Linked DNA regions of Homo sapiens: regions 2 and 3 are each linked to region 1. The links are contacts of gene promoters, found by promoter capture Hi-C in blood cells and fetal thymus (Javierre and others, 2016). All regions are on one chromosome and are shown on one strand. The core of a region is centred on a gene start or on the middle of the fragment in contact, and the rest is flanking DNA. Distances in the headings are between cores, read along the strand shown.

What was found. Contacts are between HindIII fragments. The CHiCAGO score rates a contact against its expected background, and 5 or more counts as called.
Region 2: a fragment that was not itself captured here is called in contact with the fragment with the promoter of PTTG1IP2 in region 1 in 1 of 17 cell types (naive CD8 T cells); the score reaches 5.6 in naive CD8 T cells.
Region 3: a contact is called between the fragment with the promoter of STEAP2-AS1 here and the fragment with the promoter of PTTG1IP2 in region 1, in 17 of 17 cell types (total CD4 T cells, total CD8 T cells, naive CD8 T cells and 14 more). The highest score is 39.9, in total CD4 T cells.

Annotation. Positions count from the first base shown.
Region 1 is chr7:90,467,628-90,472,220 of GRCh38, forward strand. PTTG1IP2 (PTTG1IP family member 2) reads left to right here and starts at 2,012. Exons shown (of 7, transcript NM_001365443.2): 1 at 2,012-2,304. The coding sequence starts at 2,160. The HindIII fragment of the contact is 9,262 bases long and covers 1-2,586 here.
Region 2 is chr7:90,176,996-90,181,588 of GRCh38, forward strand. All of the region lies in intron 2 of STEAP2-AS1 (STEAP2 antisense RNA 1), which reads right to left. Among named protein-coding and RNA genes, the nearest start is that of STEAP1, 25 kb to the left of the region's middle. RefSeq lists enhancers at 1,899-1,958, 1,969-2,018, 3,237-3,738. The HindIII fragment of the contact is 1,055 bases long and covers 1,391-2,445 here.
Region 3 is chr7:90,209,162-90,213,754 of GRCh38, forward strand. It overlaps STEAP2-AS1 (STEAP2 antisense RNA 1), which reads right to left and starts at 2,474. Exons shown (of 3, transcript NR_110029.2): 1 at 2,139-2,474; 2 at 690-777. STEAP2 (STEAP2 metalloreductase) reads left to right here and starts at 2,579. Exons shown (of 6, transcript NM_001244944.2): 1 at 2,579-2,884. RefSeq lists a silencer at 2,682-2,741. The HindIII fragment of the contact is 5,296 bases long and covers 1-3,863 here.

The DNA of each region.
Region 1 (4,593 bases), core at 762-3,261:
TTATTTTGAGACAGGGTCTTGTTCTGTCACCCAGGCTGGGGTGTAGTGGTGCAATCTCCGTTCACTGCAACTTCTGCCTCCTGGGCTCAAGTGATCCTTGCACCTCAGCCTCCTGAGTAGCTGGTGCACACTACCATGCTGGTTAATTTTTTGTGTTTTGTTTTGTTTTGTTTTGTTTTTTGTAGAGACAGGGTTTCACAATGTTGCCCAGGCTGGTCTTGAACTCCTGGAGTCAAGCAATCTGCCTGCCTCAGCTTCCCAAAGTACTAGGATTATAGGCATGAGCCAACGTGCCCATCTCCCACATAGACTTATGATGGCTTTTAGCAGCTACAGAGACTAAGTCCTTCCAAATTTGAATCCAGAGGAAGACAAGCATCTTTATCCTAGCATTCCTAGCAAAAGCTCTGAGATTGACTTGGATTAGACCAACCTAGGTCATGTGCCCCACTCCTGAGCCAGGCATGGTGGCCAGGGAAGTTTTATGACCTGCTTTGCTCAGGTGTAGTTTTCATGTCCTACTTCCAAAGTAGGAGTTGGAACTCCACCCATACCATGAGAACTGAGAGGCAATGAGGGGCAGGTCTCCAAGAAACAATATGAACATAGAATATATGTATTTTTCATTTTAATGGCTGCTTTAGAAAGCAACAAGTTTGCTTTCTAAAGACACTGTAACAATTTACAGTTCCTCCAAAAAGTATAATAGTACCTTTTCCCCCACAACTTCACCAATGATATCTTAGTTTTCTTTTTAAATGCTTGCCTACCTGATGTTTACATTATTAGTTTTAATTTATAATTTCCTAGTTCCTAGTACTAGTGTTTCTAAACTATTTTTTTCATATATTCATTGGCTACTTGGATTTGCTTTTCTGTCCATGGATTCTCCACATCTCTTGTCCGTTTTCCTATTGTTTATCTTTTGTCCTTTTTTTTGTCAATTTATAAAAGCACTTTTTATATTATAGCTAATAACCCTCTGTCTGTCCTCTGCATTGCAAATGGGTGAAGAAAAATTAGCCTGGAACTCTGCACATCTTCTCCTCCTCCATCTTTATTGTCCATACTAGACCCATAGTCCTCAGGATGCAGTCTAGATCAATATGCCAGGAATACTATGGGAAAACTGCAACATTTGTTTTTTAAATTTTTTTAAATAATTTTTTTAGAGAAAAGGTCTTGCTTTGTTGCCCAGACTGGAGTGCACTGATGCGATCATAGCTCACTGCAGCCTCGAACTTCTTGGCTCAAGCGATCTTCCCACCTGATCGTTTTTGAAAAACAAAACAAGATAATTCCTGGTCAAGGACAAGTTTTCATCACCCACCTCTACCCCTCCCCAACCACACATACTGGGGCAAGATTGCTCAAATTTCAGTCATTCTGGAACCACCTCCCCAATTTTTGCCATATCCTTTAAGTTGTGTACTATTTATATTTCTGAAAATTGTCCTTTTTGCACAGATTTATTTTAAAAGCATATATCGTTGCTATTACATCATTGTAACTACTGGTTATATTTTTCCAATACGCATTAAAATAAATTCATAACTATGAAAATAAAAGACATTTATGTACTACCCAAAACATACCTACCTTTAGGAAACTGCATTAGAGCACGTCAATAGGATCACCAGGCTAGTCAAGGACAAGACCAAGGGTTTACAGAGCTGTGAGTTTCACGGCCTTACCACTCATTGATCGCACAACCACTCCCATGGAGTGCAGTGGGTGGTAGGTTCATTTACATCAGAGAAAAGGCAGCATGGAAGAGTGCAACTTCTGTACACATATTCAAGTAGTGAGAATTAGAATCCAGGTCTTTCTCCAAAAAACAACAATGTAGTAGGGAAAAGTGTTGATTTGGGAGAAATAGACCTCAGTCAAGTCCAGTGGACCAACTGTACATGGTATTCAGGGCCCAGGAAGCTGGACCCAGTGCCGACGAGGATTGCACTATGAACATTCTACATTCTGGCTAGAACATTAGGGATTCTAAGGTTCTGCTGATTATGCTGGCATCCAGGGCTTGCAAGTGGCAGCTTCAGCACCCAGGGCTGTGGTAGGTCACAGTCTCTGGGCGGGTCTCAGTGTCCAACACTGTAGCTGGTGCCTGCCAGGTTCCCAGTGGCTGGGGTCACCAGGTCTGAAGAGAGATGTGCTGGCTGCGGGCATGGGGCCAGATCCTCCTGCCAGTTTTCCTCTCCCTCTTTCTCATCCAATTGCTTATCAGCTTCTCAGAGAATGGTTTTATCCACAGCCCCAGGAACAATCAGAAACCAAGAGATGGGAATGAAGAGGGTGAGTGATCTGGAGTCCTGAGGTGGGTGCCCCACATGCTCCAGCGTTTTTTTTCCTTTTAATGGTGCCATCCTGGTGCACTGGAATTTTCATCTCAAAAGTTGTCATTTGGTGTTGGTGGGAAGACATTTTAAAGGTTCTAGATGGTTTTGGTGAAACTCAGTTAAATTGGACTCAGATTAATTTGGTTTATCTGAAATATGAAAGGTAGATTCAAAGTTTTAAATTTGAGGAAAAGCATGGTTTCTCCCCCATCACTTTCTGCATGACCTATGACATATAAGCTTTTTGTTGTGAATAAGCCATTGGGTTTTGTTCTAATCAGACCCACTCAATGGTCATAGTTCCTCTTTCTTAAGTTTTTTAAGGTCTTAGTTAATAAAATGCTTTATTTGTTCTTTTTCATAAAAAAATTACTTCAGTTTGGAGGCCTCTCTCGATTTCCTTCCAAATTGAAAAAATTTTGAAATGTTAAAAGTCATGCTGAGTTAAATTCATGAACCTGGAAATAAGGTTTTAAGTATCCTAAATTGGAACCGTATAGACAAAATAAGAGACAGAATTTGAATTACTTGGAAAGTGCCCTGTAAAGCCAAGATTGCCATTTTTACAAAGACAATGAGACAGAATAATTACTGCTGTCTGGTTTCCAGAGTAGAAAAGAATGTTAGTATCTGTAAGCAAATCAGTCTTCCTTACTAAAACCAAATCCACAGTTCTCAGCGTTGCACTGAAATAAGAATCTCCTTCGAGGGGGTAGGGTTGGGGCGACGCTGAATTAAAAGAGCTAGCTTGTTTTCTTTGGTTTCATCTTTCCCACAGATTTCTCTTTTTTAACCTCTTGGTCACCTCTATACATACTCTAAGAGAAATAGTGTTCCAGTGCCATCCTGGCCCCTTCTCCCAACAAACAGCACCTGAAAGCATAGGCCCAAACATAAAAACAAATTCTTCCTTTTGTTCCCTAGCAAACTGGACTCATACCGGAAATTTTTCACGTCTTAAGACTTTATCAAAATGCTGATGAAGAACAAAAAAAAAAAAAAAAAGAAAAAAGAAAGAAAACAAATAAAATAAATCAAAAATCACATCTAAGATAATCTCCAAAGATGGAAGTTTCTGTTGCTAGCTAGCTCACTTCTAGGGCTGGCCAACTGGAGCCCATGTTTCTAAGGAAACACCTTGCCTGCCAAGGGCCTCTCCTGAATGCTTGCATCTTAGTCTCAGGCCAGTTCCCCTTAGTGCTTGCATTTAATCTTCCCATCTAACAAGGATATGGTTTCTTAGACATCATGATACTTTTCACTTCCAAAACTGAAAAGGGGCTTCTAAGCCTTCACGAGATCCTCATCTATGTCCCAGATTGTGCCCTAAGTGACAGGCAACAGACAGGACTTTGTGAAGGATTGCACATCAAGTGAGACCTCCCCCTAAGCAGGTTGTTTTGATCCCCAGGACTTCTATCTCTGATGTTCATTTACATTTGAGAGCTTAGTAATCAATATCTCAAGAAATTATAGAAAGCACTTGATGCAACTTTGGGTTAATCTTCTAGAATCTAATGACTGGATTAAAAAATATACTGAAACCTAGAGAATTTTCTTCACTAAAAGTAACCAGACAACAAAGGGGCATAGTGCAAAAAATAAGTGGCAACTAAGGAAAGAACTGGAAGATTCTAGATCAGAACAGAATAGCACAGCATGGCAAGACTCCAAATGTTGCCACTCTCCCTTAGAGGTAACTAGTGAGTTACTATAATCCAATAATTTTTATTAATTCTCCCAAATCTGGAGAGAAACAAGTTGAGGGGGTATCCATTCTTTTTCTTATTCCGAAGATGAGAAGAGGAAATGGCTACTGCAGAGAAATAGGTGGAATGAGGACCTGAAGAGAGAGGGCCTGACTCTCTGAAGGAAACTCAGGTTCCTGCGTTACAAGCTGGATTTGAGGGTGGATCTAGAGTCCAAAGATACCCCTTCATGGAAATGGGAAACACCTCTGATAAGCTCTAGCAAACCTTGGCACTGGAAAATGACAAACCTCAAAAGAGAGAGCAGAGTCAGATATTCTAACAAAGCCTGGCACAGCCTCATTTGAGTTCTCCCCCTTGTCTAATGCTGAAAACAATGGAGTGAATAGAACATAAAATGCCATAAAACTGTAGCTTCTTGAAAAAAATCTCAAGGATCATGGTAAGGTGGTTAGGATCTCACCTACACTATATCAGAACAAATGGAAGGTCTGAACAGAGCTGTGCAAGCATTAGTAGAATGAAAACAATAGAGC
Region 2 (4,593 bases), core at 668-3,167, 290 kb before region 1:
AATTCGGAAGGGCATGAGGCTTCTGCCTGTTCCCAGCTCTCACCAGCTCCATGAAGCTCAAAGCCAAGGCAGCGCCTCCCCACCTGCAGCTGGTGTCTTCGCAGCCACCACTCCAGGCAGGCGGCTGCTGCCATCAACATTACCCGACTTAAAATTATATTACAAGGCTTTCTATCAGGGTAAACTGTCAGTCAAAAAAAGAACAAAAAAGAAATAGAAAAAAATTATGCTACAAAAATATAGTAATCAAAATATCATGGTACTGGCATAAAAATGGACACATAGATAAACAGAACAAAATAGAGAACTCAGAAGTAAAGCCATGTACCTCCAGCCAACTCATCTTTAACCAAGTTGACAAATGTAGAAGAATGAAACTGGTCCCCTATCTCTCACCATATACAAAAATTAACCCAAGATAGATTAAAGACTTAAATTTAAGACCCAAAACTAAAAAAATCCTAGAAGAACACCTAGGAAAAACTCTTCTGGACATTGGCCTAGACAAAGAATTCATGACTAAGGCCTCAAAAGATTCAGAGGGGTAGGAGGGGAGTAAAGGATGAGAAATTACTCAGTAGGTACAATGTACGTTATTTGGGTAGTGGTTACACTAAAAGCCCAAACTTTACCTTTATGTAATATAACCATTTAAGAAAACGAACTTGTATTCCCTAAATTTATACAAATTAAAAATGAATGAATGAATGAAACAAGACACATGGGCAAATTATAAAACTGTGCTATGAATTAAGATGGTGTGATTAACTATTTACACCCAGGATCCAAAAAGGAGAAAACTTTACATATTAATAGGGAAACTAATTTCCAAAATAGATATAGCTGAAGATTAATTTACAGAACTAAACGTCTAAACTGAGGGATTCTCCCAGAACACAGTTCAAAAGAAAAAATTCATAAAATGGAAAACTTTAAAGAAGAGTTAAGGGGCATGAAAAGAGACCCAAATGATCTCAAATACCCATTGTGTAAGTTTCAGAAGGATGCAATAGAAGCAATAAAATAAGAAAACAAATAAATAATGGAGGGAAATTTCTTGGAGCTAGAGAAAGACACTAGACTTCAGAGCAAAACCTCTGTAAGATGAAGGGGCTGAGGAGGGAGGGGAGGAATGCACGCCTTTGCAAGCTTGATGGAACTTCAGGCCACCAAGGATAAAGAGAAAAATCCCAAAAACTTCCATAAGGAAGAAACAGACTTTTTTCTTTGGAAAGAAGAATCTGATTCCAAATAATTGAGGAGACAAAGTAGGTGATTATGCACATTGCTAAGATTTGGCTCTAGAAAAAGCTGGGCAGTAGATGGTATTGCTAGAAGGGATGTCATCAATAGTGAGCTAAGTGTACTAAAATTATCATTTTTCTCACAAAGCTTCATGTTCTGAAGGGAAAGAGGCAATTATAATTCTGGTCCCAGCTATAAATGGGCTGGTGCCAATGTATCATCACCCAACTGCTTCTCTAAAATCCAGCTAGCATCCGTCTCTCATAAGAAGCAGCATTTATACGAAGACATTCTAATGTCTACACATCTATAATCCAATATCTGTAATATAATCTATAATCTAATATCTGTAATCCAATATAATATCTGTAAATGCTAACTAGCATCATTTCAAATTATAAACCCCTATGAAGTCTCCCTGATAACTGACAATGAAGCCAGCATACGGAGACTTTTCCAGAGTCATGAGCTTGTGGGTGGCAGAACAAGGGCTGGGAGGCAGGCCTCCTGACTTTGTAGCCAGTACTGGTGCCACCATGTCATGCTGACAGCTCAGCACCAATCCTTCTATACTCTCGTGTTTTCTCCTGTTTGTGATAAAGTATGTACATCTGTGTCATTGGAAGGCTTGGAGAAGAGTCCAAAGGTGCAAAACAAAGCAAATCTCCCCACGCCTGGCAGAATCTTCAGTCCTGGCCTAATGAGCTCACCAGCTCAGTAAGTTCTGCGACTGCTTCGGGTTACCAAAAGAATAGAGTATGTAACAGTGCTAGGAAAAGAGACACTTAAAAACCCACATCCAGGCATTGTTCAATGACTGCTCATAAATACTTTATGGCAAAATTCTTTCTGGTGGCACAGAAGGCCATGAACAATCTGACACCTCCATTAGTCACCTCTGTTAGTCACCACTACGACTTCCTGACCCATCTCTGGGTTTCACTTCAGTTTTTAGATACCCAGCCCTAACAATTAAGCAAAACTTCATTGATAGTTCCTCTTCAAAAGTATTTCCAGAATAACTATTAAAATCCCATGGACTAGTCAAGATAGTGAGATATGCTTTTGAGTGAACAGCCACCATTTCTTCCTTTTAGAGATTTATTTTTTAACTTAACAAAAAGCAAATCTAATGTGAAACTTAATGAAAATTGTTTCAAAAACTTGAAATGCAACTACAAAATAGCCCATTATTGCCTAAGCTTTCTATACTTAACTAGTTTTCTAAATCTATATTACATAGGCTAGAGAAATAACATATTGTTTTTATATGTACAATCCAAATCTAGTCTCTCCGAATTTTCTTTAAGGCCAACTATTTTAATATAGGCCAGTATTTTACTCTATTATTCAATCGCAAACCACGTTTCTTTCCTCACAGTAGTGCATTTTGACAAAATCAATCTTTTCATTCTTTTCAGCAAATAATACAGAAATTGGGATTCATTCATGAGAAGTCAGTGAAAATAAAAATGATTTCAGATTTTCTTTACATTTGTATAATATCACTAGTAGAGGAGGAATGGCTTTCCAGACCACTTGTTAGGAAAAAAATATGAGTGGGAAATTACACTAAGCCTATATAAACAATTCCAAAGTAGAATTCTCTTTTCTCCTTGGTAAATAAATGCTTGATTTTCATAATTCAACATATAATTTTAAACTAGGGCAACCAAACTTGTGACATGAAAAGAGGAATTTTATTGTTAAGTTACACTGGTATACTGCAAAGTCATACCAAAAAAAAAGGAGCAAAATATATTTTTTAATAATCTTACACAAGAATGCTCAAGAATCTTCTACATGAGGTAACTACAGAAAAAAAGAACACTAGGTCAGCTGAAGGCTGAACTAAATTTGTTCCATAAAAGTTGGTGAGTTTCATTTTTCGCTTCTAAGGGGATAAAGGAAAAAGAATGTGCATTGTGTTTAAGAAAACCCAGAATACTGCCAAAAGTTTGCCACCCACTTTGGCATTCTGCCTTTATCCTGAAAGATAATTTCTTCTCCATTATAAACAGCCTATGTGAGATGAACTGTCAACAAGAGGGAAGCTAGAGTGAGAAACAGAGAAAAAGAACAGCATCATGCAAGGAAAGTTATGAAACAAATTGACTCTTGATTCTCTCTTGGCTTGCCTTTCTTAATGCAAATAGAATTAAAAAGTCAAATAGCCCTAATGTTAGCCAGGTGAAGTGTGGTTAGAAATGGTTGACTGGAAATTCCCTTGCTTTCATCAAACAATTGTTATGTGAATATTGCATCAGCTTGGTCCTTTTGATGTTCCTACATGACTTAAGAAAACTTTGTATTTCCAGTAGTGTATTTCCAATGACAAAAACTCTGCTGTGTGATTTTAGAAAATCACTAAAATTACCAGTGCTTTTGCTAGATCTTTCACAGTTGCAAAAACAAATGTTTTTGAACAAGGCTCTATTTTTCATGAAAATATTCAACTGAATGCAGGGAAAGTAAATGCAAAATATCTAGGGAAGGCACCAATCAAATCATGCAAGAAGAGATTTTTCTAGACTTCAAAGAAAAAGTATTCAGTGACTCCAAGGTGTGGGGCAAGGGAGGCAGGGGAGTGATGAATTTGTTTTCTTTGCATTGTTCCACTTCCTTGTTTGCTGTGTTGCACAAACTCTATTGAATATCAAGATTTGGCCTCTTATGAATAAGATACTTAATAGAGAAGAATGTCAGTTTTTTCAAGCCCATAAATACCTTTTAAATGTTCTTAGAATTTTACAATTGGATGAAAAAGCATCAAAAAACATAGTTTGTATAATTTTATCATTAAAAATATTTTCCATTATTATTCAAGGAGTTCATTGATGCTGAATACAAAATGCCTAAGATTTATTATTTAAGTTTATGAGCTAAAGGAAATCTTAGTGTTTATCTAGCCTAACTTCCTTGTTCTACATTTCTGTTTTGTTTTTTCAAATGATGTATCTTGTTTGCTTCACGATTATGTTAAAGAAAAAGTTTTTTTTCAGAAATAAGAAATAGATTATAAATTTTTAAAAAGGAAAGAAAATTGAGGAAAAAGGGAATTAAAGGATATTGGATAATATAGAGAAAGATATTTATAGGGCATAAAATCATTTCTAGTGGAAGGAGGACACATGGGTTTGTCATTGCCAGAGCACCTTTTGTTTTTCTGAGCATTTTGTGAGATGGCCAATTTTACCCAGCATAGAATCGAGTAAGAATGAAACTGAAATAATTTGCAAAGTTGAAAGTTGAGTGTGACCATAAGCCTCCAATCCTAGTTCCAGCCTGCCCACCATGCTGGGAATATAGTTTGGATATTTGTCCCTGCCCAAATCTCATGCTGAAATA
Region 3 (4,593 bases), core at 1,224-3,723, 260 kb before region 1:
TACTTCAGATTATATTTACATGTATAAATCTATTGATGTATATTAATGTACATTGACAAATAAATGTAAGGTGATGTTAACAGAATTTCATGTTTATTGAATTCTTTGGTTTTAAAACAAAGCAGCATTTCACAAAAATTATTCTATTTTATTATAAGCACTGCTTACAAACAAATTTGTTCAAAACAAATTTGGGGGTTTGGGGAATAGGTTAGGTAAAATGTTTTTACCATAGGAATTTTCAGAGCCTTTAATTTATTAACATACATTGTGGATCTCTAAAATGAAGAGATTTCTCTTATTGTTTATCTCAAAATCTACTATTTACATCACGACTTACATTTATTTTGTGTAAATAAATCTGCATAAATCTTATTTGCACTTGTTACTAATTTATCGTTTTCACCAAACTGTAACTTCTATCAGGACAGGTAAATATATCTGTCTTCTTCACCACTGTTCCTAGAGTGCCAGCCAGGGCATATAGAAGTGGCTCAATATTTTTGAAGTGAATGACTTGCTAGAGCAGCATTTAGGCAAACTAGTGCCTAAAGTCACACATTTTGGGAACTACCACTCTAAAGTTATTTAATTGTATAATAACTTCAAAGGAAAAAAATGTGTTAATGCCCCTAGGCCACTAGAGATCCATTTAATAATTATTGCTTCGCTTCAGTTGAGTCACTTACTACTTTAGGGAACAGAAGAGATTTCTCAGAGAGCACCTCATGACCTGGAAAAGTCTTGCAAAATCATTTTCATACTCTGCATCTCCAGCTGAAAAACAATGATAAAATTAGTTACCATGGAAGTTAAAGGAATCATGCTTTGCATTAACACCAACAGTCTTCTGGAACACATTTGGTAACATTAGATTTCCCATCAAAGATATTTGTTTATTTTAATAGTTCAAGCATGAAAAAGAGATATCCCTTTTGGAAGCTGCAAATTGTTGACTCACTGATTCTCATTTAGGAAAAGGGATTTCACATTACTTTATCTATTTTCTCAATAGTCAAAGCCCATGTTAAGAGAGCTTTTAAACATATTTAAAATATATGGCTTACCTACATGTTTTACATGATAATTTATGGTTATAGAAGTTAGAAAGTGCAATTTCTTTTAATATCCCCGTGGGGAAGTTATATAATTCTATAGTTTTTTAAAATATATGGAAAAGCAATATACTTTCCGTTAACTGCTAAGATTCATGAATTTTCTCCACAAGTTCTCCAGAGGAACTACTAGAAAAAACTCCACGAATCTCATTATTTGACAGTTTTGTTGAAGTGAAATTATTAAAATTGATATTAGATTTAATGACTTGTTTCCAGTAACCAAAATGGAAAGTATTCTACCAGCTGTCGATGGTTCCACACCCTGACACATCGTTAAAACCTTAGCTTCTGCCTAAACTTTAAACCTTAATAATATTTGGCGGTAGGGGAGGGGTTACATTTCAAGTCAAACAAAGGATGTATTTCCAAAGCAGCATTTACAAAGGTTAATCTGTGTATGGACTACAAAGGGGAAAGTGCAGTGCCCCAGTGATCGATCTAAGACCCCCCTCTCGTTGTTGTTGTTGTTGGGTTTTTTTGGTCTGGTTAATAAACCACCTAGAGGGATAATTTTTAAACTTAATTTGTTGAAATGGTACTTTACTAATGTATGAAAAAAATTTCCCCAAATTTGAGAATTTTTGGTAAGTTGATTTTATATTTGGGAATAAAGATCTCTTGCTTCTTCTACTGACACCTTCTACACAAAAGATAAAAGGTACTTTTACTTGGTAATCCGCAGGGAGAAAATTTACAGAAACCCAGAGCCAAAGGTGCTCTCAGGGGATCCCCTGAAACATTCAAAGCCATTGCGGCCCCAGAAGGTAAATGGCTTTCGCAGGAACACAGGTCTCCTGACTCACGGCCTAACCTTCCTTTCCCCCACACCAAAGCTCGCGCGGCACCAGCTAGAGTGAAGGTCAAAGTCAACAGAATAATCTCTGCAGTCCAGGGTCTGTGAGGGTCCTCCTATCCGAGGGAGTTTTCATGAAAGGGCATTTCCGAACATTTTATTCCAAGGACACAGTCTAGTCAAAAGACGTTTGGGATAGGGTAAACATGAGGCAAAAGAACACTTACAAAAGAAAAAAGCGCAGTTTCTTGGAGGCTTGTCAGAAGCTAAGACTGGGGAGATGAGAACCAGGGCCCTTGGCGAGAGTTGGGGTGGGAATCGCGTAAGAAAAGCAATTTCTAGAGCGGAAAGGTGACCCCACATTACAAAAAGAAATGGAGTAGAAAAATAGGCTTGACTATTCTAAAGCTGCTTCAGAAAGAATCTCCGGAAGACCACGGAGGAACCCCGCAGGGGAGCCAGGCGGATACTCAGCCGCTCGCGGTAGAAGGGCGCGCAAAGCTGCGGAGCCGCGTGTGTGGAGCTCCCCAGTGCACTCACTGCTGGCTCCCCCTCGGTGCTCTGGGCCCTTCCCAGCTCCCTCCACACAGCCCGGCTCCCTTCACACACCCCCGCCCCCTCCGAGCTCCCCGACTCCTCCCCGCGCTCCACGGCTCTTCCCGACTCCAGTCAGCGTTCCTCGGGCCCTCGGCGCCACGAGCTGTCCGGGCACGCAGCCCCTAGCGGCGCGTCGCTGCCAAGCCGGCCTCCGCGCGCCTCCCTCCTTCCTTCTCCCCTGGCTGTTCGCGATCCAGCTTGGGTAGGCGGGGAAGCAGCTGGAGTGCGACCGCCGCGGCAGCCACCCTGCAACCGCCAGTCGGAGGTGCAGTCCGTAGGCCCTGGCCCCCGGGTGGGCCCTTGGGGAGTCGGCGCCGCTCCCGGGGAGCTGCAAGGCTCGCCCCTGCCCGGCGTGGAGGGCGCGGGGGGCGCGGAGGTGAGCGGGTCGGGGAGGAGCGCGAAAGAAGGTAGCGGCGGCGGAGTTGAGGGTCAAGATGCAGTCTGCGCCACGCGCTGCATCCATCCTCCCCGATTCTGCGCCCTCACCGGGCGTCCGCCCTGAGCTGCGGGGTCCCTCATCTCCTGGCACCTTAAGGTGGAAAGTGAGAAGGGTGGAGAAGGGTGTCTGTTCCACTGATTCCCCCTCCTCCTCCTCTTGGTTCCTAGAGCTAAGGGCAAGTCCTGAGGTTGGGCCCAGGAGAAAGAAGGCAAGGAGACATTGTCCCAGGTAGGATGTGTCCCAGCAGGAAAGGACAGGCAGGTTACTTTCGCCCCCTTGATAGTCTCCCTGCTACTTTGGGTTGATGCAGGGCATTTCATGGAAGATCATGCAGTGCTGCTTTGCGAACAGGTATTTCTAGCAGTCATTTGGTTTATTTCCCAGTAATGTAATCGTGGTGTTTAGGCCATTTCTGTTAGAAAGTAATTGGCCTCTTCTTTGACTGTCCTAAATTATCTTTGAACCCTGTGTTCAGCCTCAGCCAAAACTTGTTGAAAATTATGCCCTAAAAATCTTGCTCTTAAAATAGAGCAGAGAGATAAAGAGCATTTTTGTTGGAAGATTTCCATTTATTATCTCTCCCACCCCGTGGAGAAGGATTGGTGTCAGTTTTTACTCCTCGGGCAGTTAGTTTTTTAGATGGAAAGACAGTCCAGGCCATAGTTAATTATCGCTCATCAGTATAGGAGAAAAAGAATTCAGACTCCTGCCCCACCCCCACCCCCACCCCCAACCTCCTGACTTAGATTCTGGTCCTTTTAACAGCCCCGCTGCTTGGAACCCTTTTTGTTTTCTAAACCACCTCCCCATCCTTCCTTTTCTCCACTTTATTATTTCTTCATTTTATTGATCTGTTTATTTTTTCTTTCTTTAACCCTATAATTTTTTTACTCCGATTCTCTCTTGGTTGCTTCAAAGCTTAGAGGCTATTTAATGGAAAAGCAAAACAAAACAAAACAAAACACCCGTCCTAAATAATTTGCAGGATGTTTAGAAACATAAAGAGTAACTATGTGTGCTGCCATTGGGATGGCTGCACTCTCTGCCTCTTAGCTAGTCACTCTGTCAGGGTATGGGGAAATGAGACAATATTGAGAATGACAACTTGAGCAAATTGTGCAGTAAGGAAATGAAAAGCTTTATCCAAGTCACTTTTTATTGTACTGGTGCTATGGAAAATGTGGTGAATGAACATAGTTGTATTTTAGTACTGAAAAAACAGGACAGGTGAAGACAAATTTTTAAAGAAAGGATTGTAAATGAGTTAGAAAAGTGAGAAAGAAGATACACCAAAAATGTGAAAGAGTAAGACTGCAGGCGTGATAAAGGACATAGGACATCAGGAGATGTATTTATCCCTGCTGGGCCAGAAACCAGGACATTGAGGTAACTGAGACATTAACATAACAATAACATTGATAAATCACCTACCCCTTAAGGGCCCACATGTGTTTTCAGCAAAAAGAGAAATCTGATCTAGAGAATTATTACATGTCTTTTTGTCCTGAATTTTTTTGATGTATTCCATAACAAAGAATTTTTATTGCATCCTTAGTTACACTGCCAGCCAATGTGGAGGCAGTGATCACGGACAAGACAAACATGGTTCTTCCCTCGTGCAGTTTATTGTCCAATGGGGGAAATAG